Linked DNA regions of Homo sapiens: all the other regions are linked to region 3. Evidence: promoter capture Hi-C in 16 types of primary human blood cells and fetal thymus (Javierre and others, 2016). All regions are on one chromosome and are shown on one strand. The core of a region is centred on a gene start or on the middle of the fragment in contact, and the rest is flanking DNA. Distances in the headings are between cores, read along the strand shown. Region 1 overlaps KAT6B (lysine acetyltransferase 6B). Region 2 overlaps KAT6B (lysine acetyltransferase 6B). Region 3 holds the start of AP3M1 (adaptor related protein complex 3 subunit mu 1).

Region 1 (5,156 bases), core at 106-2,605, 820 kb before region 3:
TATCAACTAATGGCCAAGAAAATGGTGATGGCTTCCTGTTGTAGGACTTTGGAGTCACTATCATCCTCAAAAATATAAAATTTGTTAAGCTCTTAACACTGTGCTGAATAATATGGAAAGTGTTCTAAACTTTTGACCTTAATAATCTAATCTTATTCTAATAGGGGAATGGTTTGGAGAGAGAGATGGTCTTTTCATCCCTGGGTCTGAATTAGAGCCTTTATTTTATATATATGTATATATATACACATATATATATGTATTTTTTTCTATGCTTTTATACTCCTCTATTCACAACCTGTGCTAAACTCAGAAGTATAGGGAAGGTGGGAGGGATGAAAAAAATGCTTAAAGAACCTGTATACCTCTGAGCTGTCAGACCTCAGGACAAAGCTAACCAATATGTAATAAAATACATTTTTAGTACAGTTTAGAAGTTCACCTTTTGGCATTCTGGAAAGTGGTGGGTCACAGCATTCCATATGAAATCCTCTATCACAGGAATCACAAAAAAGCATATTATCCTGTAATATAACATATTAGAGACTAATTGAGACTGAAACCAACTGTAAAAGGCCAAAAATTCTTTTGTTACTGGATTAACATTAATACAATATAAGGAAAGTGCACCAAGATCCTGGTTGCAGTTTGACATCATGTGTATTTAAAGCTTTAGAAAGAAAGTAGCCATACTCTATAAAAATGAAAACACCTTAACACTGGAAATTAGCGAGTTACCTGGAGGCGGATTACGGGAGCCATACTTACAGCATTTCTGCCTTGGACTCTACAGGCACTGCATGTCTTGCATTCGATGCACTGCCACCTTAAGGCCTTTACATTTGTTGTTAATTCAGGACAAAATTTCAAACAGGATGGGTGTCCTATGAGAATAAAAAGCAAATTGCTTGATGGGAATGGTGCCTTTGACTTTTTTAAACTCCCATTCCCTAATATTTAATAGATAGCTGATGAGGCTAGCCAATGAACCTTAGGAACTTGAAAATGCCAACAGATCAGAGAATCCGAATTACAGATTTTCCTTTCTGCCTTTTCCCCTTGCCTTCTTTCCCTGTATGTAACAAAATGACTGTACGAATGTTTTCCCTAAGAGAACTTAATTTATACCAATTCCAATCTGAAGCCTTTGAGAACTTGAAGATAACACAGGCTCAGGCATTCTTACTCCTGCACCTGTACTTGCCGTCTTCATCAACCACCATCTACCCAGGGGGTCCTGGTTTGCCACACACTGAGGGGAGTTGCCAAAGTTCAAACAATTCCTGCTCTCTGTGTGTGATGAAATCATAAAACTCAACAGATAACTAAATAAAAAATTGAGGCTGCTTAACATAACTACAGATGCCCTCCCCCACCCAAATCCAATAGCACACAAAGAACATCCCATTGCTGGGCTAGACAGAGGATATTCCATTGCCATCTTGCCCCTGGGTCACTGAGTTTAAACTCTGGAAGCAGGAGCAGAAAACAGTGAATTTGAGAGACAGAGTTAAGAAGCTGAGAGATCCAGGTTAAACAGGACCCACCAAGAAGTGTGGCCTCAGCAGGTTCCCCCATTTTCCTGTTTGGGGCACACTTTTCACCTAGCAGCGCTCCACACACCAGGTCTTACTGCTCACTTCACAGAGGAAAACTGGAGACCCTGAGGGGCAATGCCATTCAAAGGAGCCAGCCATGAGCCAGTGTGTAATAGATTCCTCCAAGAGGTGTGCGGAGCGTGAGCCTAGATTCTTTGGAAGGCTGTACAGTTTAAAATCTAATGGTCTTTTATCACATAAACCCGAAGAGATCTCCAAACTTGATTTTATTTTTTTAAACCTGGTCTTTAAATAGTAAGAACATTAGTAAATCCCATGTGAAAGAACTTACAACCAAGCTGCAAAGGAAACCTGAGGGGTAATAAAAAAAAGCAGATTCTGCAATTTCAAAACTGTTTTATAATTTCCTGACTTTGGCAGGCTCATTGTTTAAATATGTATTTTGGATTGCTGCCAAAAAGGTCCTCCTCCCTAAAGCTTAACAGGTGCTTCATAAAATTCCACCCACCAGGAGATTTGGCTTTTTGAAGTAAAAACATTCAAAATCAATCACCAATACCGTTAATAAAAGCACACTATTCCTGAGTTAAAAAAAAAAAACTCTAAACATCTGTATTTAAGATGTTGAGAAAATAAAATATTGTCACAGGATTATGACCTCAGGCAGGAGAGACACCCAGGCAGATGCATTTAACCTGTGACACTGTTCTTTTATGAGGCTTCTCTCATTCAAATGAATGCAAGGAAAAAGTCTGAATAGATAAAAATGGTATCAATCTCCTCTTTCTGCTCAGGAACGGCAAACAAAGACAGCTTGCTTGTCGACTTCTAAGAAGCACACTGAAGCGGGGAGGGGAGAGGTCTACTTTGATCAGAGCCCTCCCCTCTGTCCCCTTATATAGTGAGGAGGGTAAAAACTTAACTTTTAAAGAACAGCAATTTAAATTCCACCCTTAAAATGGATCCCATCAGCTTAAAAGTATACCACTTACTTCCCCCCTCTTTTTTATTACTTCCTGTAAGGCATATATCATGGGCACATATGACCTCAATTTCACGCACTGAATTTTTCTCTACATTCAAATCTGCTTTTGTACTTTGTGACTTAATATTCAGTAACTAAGGTAATTCACATCATATTACAGCTTACTATTTATTCTCACAGGTATCTTATGAAAGACAGACTTTTTAATAATTATGCAGTTTGAAAATTAGTGGATTTCAGCCATTTTCAATCAGGGGCAAGGAATATTCTTTCTCTTAATGGTTTCTCTCACTTTAAGCAATACTGTATCTCAACTACTACTATTTAAGCTACCCTATCAAATTCTAAAATCTTCAGCCTATCTTTCCTTTAGGCAGCAATCTTACCTTTATTTAGCTCAAGAGAATTGGCCATAGATCCCTTACAGTTCTAAATTTCTATGATTCTGTAAAGGATGCTGAGGGATGAAGAAATATTTCCATTTTATTTTCTCATGGCCAACTTTAAAATAACACAAAAGACCGTAACGTGTCTTGATATACTACTGCACAATCTATAGTAATTAGATAAAGGAAAGCAATGCTACTGATCAAGTAATTCCTTACCTCTGGTTTAGCGATTTCATAAACTCAACAATTTCCTCTAACACTTTAATTTTTTTTTTTTTTTTGAGACGGAGTCTCGCTCTGTTGCCCAGGCTGGAGTGCAGTGGCGTCATCTTGGCTCACTGCAAGCTCCACCTCCCAGGTTCACGACATTCTCCCGCCTCAGCCTCCTTAGTAGCTGGGACTAGAGGCGCCCGCCACTATGCCTGGCTAATTTTGTTTTTGTATTTTTAGTACAGACAGGGTTTCACTGTGTTAGCCAGGATGGTCTTGATCTCCTGACCTTGTGATCCACCTGCCTCAGCCTCCCAAAGTGCTGGGATTACAGGTGTGAGCCACAGCGCCCAGCCTATTTTTTTATTTTTGAGACAGGGTCTTACTCTGTTGCCCAGGCTGGAGTGCGGTGGCATGATCACGGCTCACTGCAACCTTAGCCTCCCAGACTCAAGCAGTGCTGTCACCTCAGCCTCTCGAGTAGCTGGGACTACAGGCACGCATCACCAAGCCCGGCTAATTGTTTTGTATTTTTTTGGTAGAGATGGGGTTTTGCCATGTTGGCCAGGCTGGTCTTGAATTCCTGGCCTCAAGAATCCACCAGCCTTGGCCTCCCAAAGTGCTGGGACTACTGACACACCCCACCACGTCCAGCTAATTTCCTCTAAAATTCTTGTTCTCTCTGTTGACACGTTTCATGGTGCTTTGTCTTTCTGGAGTTTGTTTTACTATTGTATTTTGCAATTTATCAGATTTGAGAGCCATAATACATATTCATTCACTCATTCAATTTTACACAAATACATTGTCAAGTACTAGTAGCTTACAATAGTTTTATCTAGCAAAACCAAAGGAATACTATTTAAAATTAAACAAGTACCAATGGAACTACAAACCAGTGGAAAAGCTTTTTGGAGAAAGTACTGAGGAAGAAAAAACACAGGCTCTGTAGTAAGCACAACAACAGCAGCGCCCCAGCCATCTGTGCTCTAATTCCCATAACCTGTAAACATACTATACCTGTTGTAGCAAAAAGAACTCTGCAGAAGTGACTAGGGGTACCGACCTAGAGATGGGGAGTTTATCCTGGATTATCTGAGTGGGCATGATTGATCTAATCACATTAATCCTTAAAAGCAGAGAACCTTTTACGGACTTGGTTAGAAATGAAATGGCAAAAGGAGGAGGAAGGGTTCAAAGCATGAGAGAGACTCCACCTGCTATCACAGGCTTTCAAGATGGGGAGGGGGCTGCAAGCCGGGGAATGTGGGTGGCCTGTAGAACCTGGCCATGACCTTCACCTGACAGCAAGAAAACCAGGATCTCGGTCCTGTCAACACAAGGAATTGAATTCTGCCAATAACCCAGATGGATAAGAACATGGATCCTCTCCTTCCCAGAACTTTGGGAGGCCAAGGCGGGTGGATCACGAGGTCAGGAGATCAGGACCATCCTGGCTAACATGGTGAAACCCCGTCTCTACTAAAAAAAAAAAAAAATACAGAAAATTGGCCGGGCGTGGTGGCGGGCGCCTGTAGTCCCAGCTACTCGGGAGGCTGAGGTGGAAGAATGGCGTGAACCCGGGAGGCGGAGCTTGCAGTGAACCGAGATCACGCCACTGCACTCCAGCCTGGGCATCAGAGTGAGACTCCATCTCAAAAAAAAAAAAAAGAACATGGATCCTCACTTAAAGTCTCCAGAGAGGAGCCAGCCCTGCTGATACCCCGATTTTAATCTGGTGAGACCCATGATGGACTTCCAACCTACAACTATAAGATTAAAAATGTGTTGTTTTTAAGCCACTAAGTCTGTAGTAATTTATTCCAGTAGCAATGGAAAACTAATAACGACTCAGACACTAAGCCCCTCAGACTGGCTACCTGACCATCCATCTGTCCATCTCTCCTCCCTTCAACTAATATTTAATGAGCACTGGATACAGTGAGGAAAAGGAGAGGCATGGTTCCCACCCTTCCAGATCACATAGCCCAGCAGGAAAGACAAACATTAAAC
Region 2 (4,590 bases), core at 680-3,179, 690 kb before region 3:
TAAAACAATCAAGCAACCTTGGATCCTCCTTCTCCCCTCCCCCAGCCACGACACACACCCCACTCCTCGATTTAATCTCAAAATTAGCTCTCATCTGACACCAACCAACAGAGTTAATTAGGCAGAAGCAGATGTAACTCAGCAGCTCTTTGCTACAAGCAGAATCACAGTGTTCAAAAAAAAAAAAAAAATACACAGCTAGGAGAGGAACAAAATCAGAAGTCTCTTATCTGTAGCCAATTCTCAACTAAACACATGTATATTATCCACTTTGTATATTATCCACCGCAAATTTTTTAATCTTAGGCTGATTTGTTTCCAACATCCCACTGGCCCCACTGTAAATTCATATAAGCAAGAGAATAGATTGAAAACCAATTTCATTTTAGCCTAAGCAGTATCTAACTGGAAAGACAAATCCACAGGAAAAAAAAATGCATAATTCATTCAAAAGCCAAATAGAAATGATTTTTTTTTTCCTGATTTGGAATTATCCACACTATTTCTCTTTTTCAGAGCATGGGGATTTGCTTCACATGTAGATAGGACATTCTATCACAAGCGAAAACCCTAAAATCATTATTCTCTTTTCATTTTTTTTCTATAAAAACTTGAAGGTTGGACTAAAAGGCTATCAAAAAGGTAGCAAATCATCCTAAATTAATTCTGGGGATTTGTGCTACATCAAATTAAATTATTCTATTTTCTAAGGTTGTGAATCATTTTATTTTTAACTACAAAATATCAGTAAATTATATGGTTGTATCATACGGTCTTATAATATAACACTATTTACATCATTCATTACAAATATTCTAAACATATCTAGAGAAATGCTTAGTCCAGCACTGAGCTTTTAGCTTCACTGGTATTACATAAACATCAACACTATTCAGAAATATTCATGTCAGCATAAGAAGAGTCAAAATATCCTGGATCATAAGTATTATGCGAGGCCTCCTCTAAGCTTTTACTAAAGCTGTGTGTGTTGTTTCAAAATCAATGTCATAACACTCAAGTCATGAGATTATGGATGAGGCAAAAAACAGTGGTAGAAAAAAACAAAGATTAATAATAGAGTTTACACTTTTGTCATCCTGAGTTTTACTTGCTAACAGTTATTTTTAACTATTTTACTTTCATAAGTCCTGGCTTTTTCTTTCTTTTTTTTCCCCAAAGGGATCACTGTTGGAAAACCTGGATTTTTTCAAAGCCCATTGTGTAACTGAGTGAGCATCCACAAATCTAAGCAGTATCTTCCGAAACAGAACAGAACTGTTTAGGGGAAGGGACCTTGACTTATTTTTCTTCTATCAGCACCCAGCTCAGGTTATTGGCAGAGTTGCTCAAAATAGTGTCCTTGGTTAACAAATATCTGTTGTCTGACAACATGAAACGCCATCCATATGGTGATATTTCTTATCTTTCAAATCCTGGATGCATCTATTTCCTCTGAAATCAATGCTTCAGGCCCAAAACATGTGAACTGGGAGGTGAGGTTATAAATACTAATCAAAGAAAAACCAACAAATATTTAGCGAGCTGATGCTCCCTGCATGCAGCCCTGTGGTAGGTACTATGGGGAATACAAAGCAAAGCTAGAGACAGAACATATAAGAAGCAATTAAGAAATAGCAAAGCACTGTTTGGCGGTTCCTCAAAAAGTTAAACACAGAATTACCATATGGTTCTGTAATTCCATTTCTAGGTATAGACTCAAAAGAATTGAGAACAGATACTCAAATAAGTACACGTACACCCATGTTCATAACAAAACTATTCACAGTAGCCAAAAGGTGTAAACAGCCCAAATGTCCATCAACAGATGAACAGATAAACTGTGGTATATCCATACACTAGAATACTATACAACTATAAAAAGCAATGAAGTTTCGATACATGCTACTACAATGTAGATGGACCTCAAACACGTTATGCTGTGAAAGAAGCCAGACACAAAAGGCCACACATCATATAATTTCATTCATATGAGACATCCAGAATAGATAAATCCATAGACAAAACACAGATTGGTGGAGTCTCAGGGACATATCTAGAGAAACTGCTTAATGGGTAAGGGGTTTTATTTGGGATCAATAAAAATGTTTTGGAACTTGATAGTGGCAGTGGTGACACAACACTGAATGTACTAAATGCCACTGATTTGTTCACTTTTTAATGGTTTTTTCATTTTATGTTATGTGAGTTTCACCTCAATAAATTGTTTAAAAAAAAAGAAATAACAAAGCACTAAACTATAATAATAATAATAATACCAACCATTTCCTGACACCTACTGTGGTCCAGGTACTTTACATAGATTATCAGTAAACTTTAAAACAACTCTGTAAGGTAGCATTGTTGTTTTTACAAAAGGAAAACAGGCTTGACTTAGCCAAGATCTCAGAGCCATTAAGTCATGAAGGATTTTAATTCAGATGCCAAAGCCCAAACTCTTTCTGTCTCTCCAGAGGTTTTCAAACTAGGCTCTTTAGATCTCTGTGACAAGGAGTTACTTCGGGTATTACCTTCAGGTACCCCTTGTGGGTTAAACTTTGGGCCATTGCAGCACCTTGAACCCAACAGTGCAGCTCCACTTTAACTGTTTTACATATATTTGTCTTCCCCATAAGATTCGCTTTAAAGGAAGTGTTCCTCTGATTACAGAAGGAAGAAGTCTGGAAACAACTGTGACTATACTACCTTGCTGAAACCACGTGGAGGATGGATGAACATCTCTTGGATGGATGGGACTGAAACTGAACCTTGAAAGATAATGCTGAGCCTGGATAAGTGCCCCACCGTCCCTCTGCCCAAATTCAAATCCTTCATGGCCCAGTGCAAACAACTTCTCAAAAGCCCCAAACATCTTTGTCTAACAGGAAGCTTTTAGCTTTTTTACTGTTTTGACATTCATTTCCCACTTAGTATTATGCTTACTTGTGTATTAACCTTGTCACCCCTACTAGACTATAAAATTCTTAAAAACAGGATTCATGCTTGATTCATCTTTGTATACCCTAAGATTTCCCAAGACCACAACTTGATCATAAGAGGGTTTCAATGCCTATTTGCTAAATAAATGTATCGGGGAATGAATGAAGGAAATCAAAGTGAAATAACAGAAGCTAAGAATGAGCTGTCAAACAAAAGGGACACCAAGTCCATGTGCCTGACTAGAACAGGTATATGCTCAAAAGGGATAAAGAAATTAAGTTGGGCCAGGCACAATGGCTCATGCCTCTAATCCCAGCACTTTGGGAGGTCAAGGAAGGAGGATTACTTGAGGCCAGGAGCTCGAGACAAGCCTAGGCAACACAACAAGACCCTACCTCTACAAAAATAAAAAATTAGGTGGCTGTGGTGGTGTACACCTGTAGACCCAGCTACTCGGGAGACCGAGGCAAGAGGATCTCTTGAGCCGCCCAGGAGGTTGAGGCCACAGTGGGCTATGATTGTGCCACTGCTCTCCAGCCTAGGCAATAGAGCAAGACTCTGTCTCTAAAAAAGACAAATATAATTTAAAAATGAAAAACAGAAATAGGCCAGGCACAGTGGCTCACACCTGTAATCCTAGCACTTTGGGAGGCCAAGGCGGGCAGATCACGAGGTCAGGAGATTGAGACCATCCTGGCCAACATGGTGAAACTCCATCTCTACTAAAATACAAAAAATTAGCCAGGCGTGGTGGTGCATGCCTGTGGTCCCAGCTACTCGGAAGGCTGAGGCAGGGGAATTGCTTGAACCCCGGAGGTGGTGGATGCAGTGAGCCGAGATCGCGCCACTGCACTCCAGCCTGGCAACAGAGCCAGAATCCATCTCAAAAAAAAAAAAAACAGAAATAAAGTTGGCTGTGAAAAAAGCCAAGCTGTGGTGTGTGAACGTGACAGATGAATAGGAAGCCACTGCAGGAGCAGGTGACACCATAATGCACAGGGAAGGGCATGCACATACACACACAAACCTGTTGAATGTTTGAATCACTCTGGCAATAGTAGCCATCTACTCTGGAGGGAAGGGTGATTGAAAGAAAAAACAAAAGCAACCAGTATTTCATCTCTGCAAACATCAATCTTGTTCAACTTATATTTATGAGCCTAACTCAGCAGCAAGCCCAGAGCAGGCACTCAATAAAACGCTGGTTGAACTGAATATTTAATTCCCCATCTTTTTAGAGTAACACTAAGTTCTTTCCCACTACTCATTAACAAAGAGAGTTTTCAATTCATAAGCTAATAATGTTTTCCAAGGATTTCTAAGAGGCTAAATCACCATAAAAATTATCATTTCAACTAATACATATTATATTAATTGCAAGTTTAATTTTTCATGTCATGCTCTCCTAGTTGACAATATCCTTGTTATGTCATTAAACTATAATTGTGTAAATGTGCTTCAACAAACAATAACTGAACCATCAATAAACTATTATGGTTTCCATAATCCCTAGCAAAGATTAGTTTCAACATCATCATCATAAATTAGTAGAGACAGGTCCCAAATCTCCTGGTGAAACCCATGAATTAGGTTTGCATAGTTATCCCTGCATTTAAGTGCTCAATAGTTTCAGTCTCTAAAATTTAATCACAC
Region 3 (4,880 bases), core at 1,054-3,553:
CATTAAATTATGCAAAGTCTTTATAATCCATTCTCCTTAACCAAAACCAGTAGCAATCCCCTGTCAAGCAAGTCATCATAAATTCAGTGTAAATACTCAATGCATTATCACACTTTGAGTCTGAAAGCAAATTAATATAATAAAAGTAATAATAGCCGATCCTAAAATGTCTCCCCACAAAATTAGAGATTTGTCCCAGTACTCAAGTGTCTAATCTTTTAACTTCATGTCTACAGGTGGCACTAAATTCATATTGTATAAAGTGAATTTTAGTTGCCTAAGGAATGCTCTCACCACAGCCTCACAAAGCACCAGGACTGCAGGTATAAGAAAACATGCTCAGCTAGTTCCTATTTCTGTTCCTGTACTAATTGTTTTATTTGGGCTTCAATATCTTCAATTGTAAAATAGGCATAATTCTTGCCTTCCTTTGATCACAGAACTGTCCAACAAGATAATAAATAGGAAAACACAGTGAAAATGGATCAGCATTATATATAATAATTTTTATTAAGGAAAAATCTAAGGAAATCTAAGGGTTATATGTTCAGTAGGATGGTAGGGAAAAGTTGCATCTGTCTTCCAGTTTGGCGAAGGAGGTGCCTTATAAGGAAATACTCTAATAAAGGGCAGAGTAGGGAAAGCACATGCCTTGAACTCAGGTAGGTCTGATTCAAAAGCCGTTGCTTTTTATTCTGCATATAGTTGGAATATTTAAAATAAAAATAGAATATCCTGAGGGTTTTTATTTTAAAGTTTATGTTCTTGGTATAAGGTAGGCACACTAACCCTTTGAGGGTAGTAGGAATACATTAAAGGAACTGGCAAGGATTTGTTCACCCTCCATTCAAAGCAGCATGAACACACCACCAGGCCCCTAAGTGTCCTTTTCTTTTCAATTGTGAGTGATTCCTTCCTTTGGAGGTGAAGAAGAGTGATACTGGAAGAAATGGGATATGTCCTGTTTAATCAGGAGTGTCCTAATAGTTTTAAATCAGTTTGATATGTCTATTTTAAGATGGAAAAAAAAATCGCTGCCTTTCAGCGAACATTTCCAAATCATCAAAGACTGCCTGCTTCACTTTATACTTATTAGGAAGGGATATTTTAACAAATGACTCTTCATAAGTAAAAGTTGCAACATCAATCACATGTGAGGCAGGTGTTAGGGGCAGCACTGTCCCCGTTGCTGCCAAAAAGTGTAAATAAAAAAGAGAAATCAACCTTTCCTATCCATTCATCCAAATGCTGCCCCTGCAAAGCATCGGAGGGGTCTGGGTCCCTGGTAGAGGGTCCTCAAAGGTACGGGCTTTCAGAATGTGCACGAAAAGGAAGGTCAACGTGCCCTTCCGCAACACTCTGAAAAATCCCCAAGAATTCTGACTTTGCCCCAGTGTACAGCAGTTGCCGAGCCTCTTTCCCGCCATCCCCCGGGAAGAGAAGGCGGCCGCCTACAGACGCTGCTCCGGTCCGACCCTCCGGGGTCGCACCAGCCCAGCCTGGGCTTGCTCGCAGGTGGCGCGGTCAGCCAGCTCGGTCCCCCTGCGGGCCACGACTGGCGAAGGGCTGCTGGAGCCGGAGCTGCACCAGACAGGCGGGGACTCAGCCAAACGGAGAGAACGTCTGGCAAGGGGTCGCGGCCAAGCGGGCAGCTGGGGGAGGTCCTGCGTGTTGGCCCCAAGCTGGCAGTGAGAGACACCACCCAGCGTCGGGGCCGTGCAACCCCACGTGGGCCCTGGCTTGCTTGCAGCGCCGTCACCCTCCTCCCCAAGTCCGGCAGCGCTCACCTCAGCGCTTGCGGCGCCTCCACCTTCAGCTTTTTGGGCTTCGGCTCCTCCTCAGCAGCTGCCATCTTCGCGCTCCCACCCCACTTTGGCTCTACAGCCCACCTCTGCCATCCACTCTCTGGTCCCGCCCCCTCTTCGCATCACCGCTTTCTCTTCTCCAAATCCCGCCCCTCCAGACTCCGCCCATTCTGTGCCGCTGTCATCCACAATCATTGGCTCTATCCGTCGGCACCAACAGCGAATGCCCCGCCCATTCCTGACCCCGCCTCCCCTACCATGAGGGACCCCAGACTGCGTTAGGCAGCAGATGACCGCCTGAATCTAGATGGAGAGAAACCCACCATTTTTCTAGGCCCTGGATTATGTAGAAGATTTAGATACTAAGCCTCAAGAGACGTCTTTCCTCTCATTTACGGTCTTCCTGCATATTTAAAATTTCTAATACGGTAGACAGAGTCGGTGTCTTTGAAGCTGTTAATCAGGCAATTTCCTGGGCACTCCAGCTGCGGGTCCTCGCGGCCTTCTCGGCTTCTCCAGCTTCGGTAGGAGAGGATCCGGCGCCGAATCACTGACTGGCACAGGTGTTGGGGTGAGTGTGAGGGGCGGGAAATCTGTGGACTGGGGACAGCTCCAAAACCCGGGAGTAGGCTGAATAGCTGGGGCCCCCGACTCCGATCTGGGCTCTAGGAGCGTCTTTGGTGCTGTTGGCCCGGGCCTCGCTTCCCCCCCACTCCCGGCCTTCCGGGCTTTCTCGCCAGCAAGGCCAGAAGGGAGCGGTCCACCTGCAGCCCAGTGTTCTCAGGCGCCTGAGCCCCGGAGGTCAAGCTTACTGGGTTCCCCCTCTATAGTGAGCTGGAGTACAGACGGCAGGAATCTCAGTCCCAGGTTTCTGCTTTGGAGGACAAAACCCCAAACGGACCTGAGCAGACGTCCTGTTAGCGGGTGGTGCCTGGAAGAGCCTGGGGTGAGGAATGCAGTGAGAAGGGTGTTGCAGTTCTTCAGGAGAGAGGTAACGGGGTTCTAAGCTGAGCAGGTGGCAGTGAGTGTGGAAGAGTGACGGGCGATGTGGCTGTTTGTATTTGGTAGATTTGTTTGAACCTGAAACTTACAGCCTTATGTGTGATTAAGAAGATGGTGCCAGTGACAGGAGGAGGTATTTTATGGAGTTTGAGTTTTATCGAATTTGAAACAGTGGTTTACATGGAGATTGTAGAAAGACTTTAAAAAAAATTATGAGAATTAAGCCCGAAAGACTTTCAAGGTGAGACCCAAAACAGATGAAGTTTCATATAAAAGGGTAAGAAGTATTTTTGTTTAGGAGAAAGTTATCAATGACATAAAATGCTGCAATGGTCAGAGGAGGAAGCTGAAATCAGAATAGGTCGTTGGATTTTATAATTAGAAAGTCATTGAGCTGTTTGAGAGAGATGCTTTAATAGTAACTGAGGAAAGACTGCAAGTGTAGACCAATCCTTCATCATTTGGGGCATGAAGCAAGATTATTGAGAGTGGCAAGGTGGGGGAAAGTTTGGGGTTTGTTTTAAAGAATACAAGATATCTATTTGGGGGCAGGAAGCAAGCAACTATTTGAAGATTCAAGAAAAAGTCTTGTCTCCCAGAAGAGAAGGAAAGGAATGGGATCAAGTTACAAGTGAAAGGATTAATTTGGGAAAGACAGAGGGACACTTTCAATTGACACTATAGGAGAAGTGAAGTGAATGAGGTTAATGAAGAATTATCTTAATTTACGAATCTTGGCCAGGCGCGGTGGCTCACGCCTGTAATCTCAGCACTTTGGCAGGCTGAAGCGGGCGGATCACAAAGTCAGGAGTTCGAGACCAACCTGGCCAACATAGTGAAACCCTGTCTCTACTAAAAATACAAAAATTAGCCAGGTGTGGTGGCACACGCCTGTAGTCCCAGCTACTTGGTAGGCTGAGGCAGGAGAATCCCTTGAACCCGGGAGGCGGAAGTTGCAGTAAGCTGAGACCTCACCACTGCACTCCACCCTGAGCGACAGAGCGAGACTCTGCCTCGAAAAAAAAAAAAAAAAAAAAAAAAAAAAAAAAAAAAAAACCTTACGTATCTTTAGGAAAGCTCTCTTTGCAACAAGATTATATTTTCTTACTTAATCTTATGATTTTTATTTCTAACCATTTAATATAATATACGGCCAGGCACGGTAGGGCTCATGCCTGTAATCCCAGCACTTTGAGAGGCTGAGGTGGGTGGATCACGAGGTCAAGAGATCGAGACCATCCTGGCAAATATGGAGAAACCCCGTCACTACTAAAAATATAAAAATTATCTGGGCGTGGTGGCACGTGCCTGTAGTCCCAGCTACTCGGGAGGTTGAGGCAGGAGAATCGCTTGAACCCAGGAAGCGGAGGTTGTGGTAAGCTGAGATTGCGCCACTGCACTCCAGCCTGGCAATAGAGTAAGACTCCGTCTCAAAAAAAAAAAAAACAAACCAATATACTATGGGCAGATGGAGTGCGGTGGCTCACGCCTGTAATCCTAGCACTTTGGGTGGGTGAGGCGGGAAAATCACTTGAGGCCAGGAGCTGGAAATCAGCCTGGGCAACATAGCGAGACTCCATCTCTACAAAAAATTTAAACATTAGCCAGGCTTTGTGGCATGTGGTTGTAGTCCTAGCTACTCAGGAGGTAGAGGCAGAATGAGGCAGAAGGATCACTTGAGCCCAGGAGTTCAAAGTTACAGTGAGCTATGATTGGTCCACTGCACTTCAGCCTGGGCAACAAAACAAGACCCTATCTCTTAAAAAAAAATACATATACACATACGCTATGGGAGTTCTTTGCAGATTTAAATATTTTTAAGTAGCTCAGTACTGTGTCAATTCATGAGTAGCACATGGTATTTACAGAGAAGAGGACTTCTCTCTCCCTTTGGAAATGACCTCTCTCCCATTACACAGAGAAGGAGAGCCATCATCTGCCTGCAGTCAAGTATACAAACCTTCCCTTCAATCTGAAGAGTAGAAAGTGTTCCTTCTCCTTAGAGAAGGCAAACCCTTTGACCTAGTCTCTCAGTAGCATCCTCTCCTGCTATGTCAGGGTCCTCTTTCCGTT

Evidence for each region. Contacts are between HindIII fragments. The CHiCAGO score rates a contact against its expected background, and 5 or more counts as called.
Region 1: a fragment that was not itself captured here is called in contact with the fragment with the promoter of AP3M1 in region 3 in 1 of 17 cell types (fetal thymus); the score reaches 5.5 in fetal thymus.
Region 2: a contact is called between a fragment that was not itself captured here and the fragment with the promoter of AP3M1 in region 3, in 1 of 17 cell types (fetal thymus). The highest score is 6.3, in fetal thymus.

The regions. Positions count from the first base shown.
Region 1 is chr10:74,965,388-74,970,543 of GRCh38, reverse strand. KAT6B (lysine acetyltransferase 6B) reads right to left here. Exons shown (of 18, transcript NM_012330.4): 5 at 769-884; 6 at 443-524. Among named protein-coding and RNA genes, the nearest start is that of SNORD172, 54 kb to the left of the region's middle. The HindIII fragment of the contact is 1,366 bases long and covers 673-2,038 here.
Region 2 is chr10:74,833,449-74,838,038 of GRCh38, reverse strand. All of the region lies in intron 1 of KAT6B (lysine acetyltransferase 6B), which reads right to left. Among named protein-coding and RNA genes, the nearest start is that of KAT6B, 9.1 kb to the right of the region's middle. The HindIII fragment of the contact is 1,919 bases long and covers 970-2,888 here.
Region 3 is chr10:74,148,251-74,153,130 of GRCh38, reverse strand. AP3M1 (adaptor related protein complex 3 subunit mu 1) reads left to right here and starts at 2,303. Exons shown (of 9, transcript NM_012095.6): 1 at 2,303-2,376. ADK (adenosine kinase) reads right to left here and starts at 1,910. Exons shown (of 11, transcript NM_006721.4): 1 at 1,788-1,910. The coding sequence starts at 1,852. RefSeq lists enhancers at 1,560-1,739, 2,150-2,379. The HindIII fragment of the contact is 5,595 bases long and covers 1-2,614 here.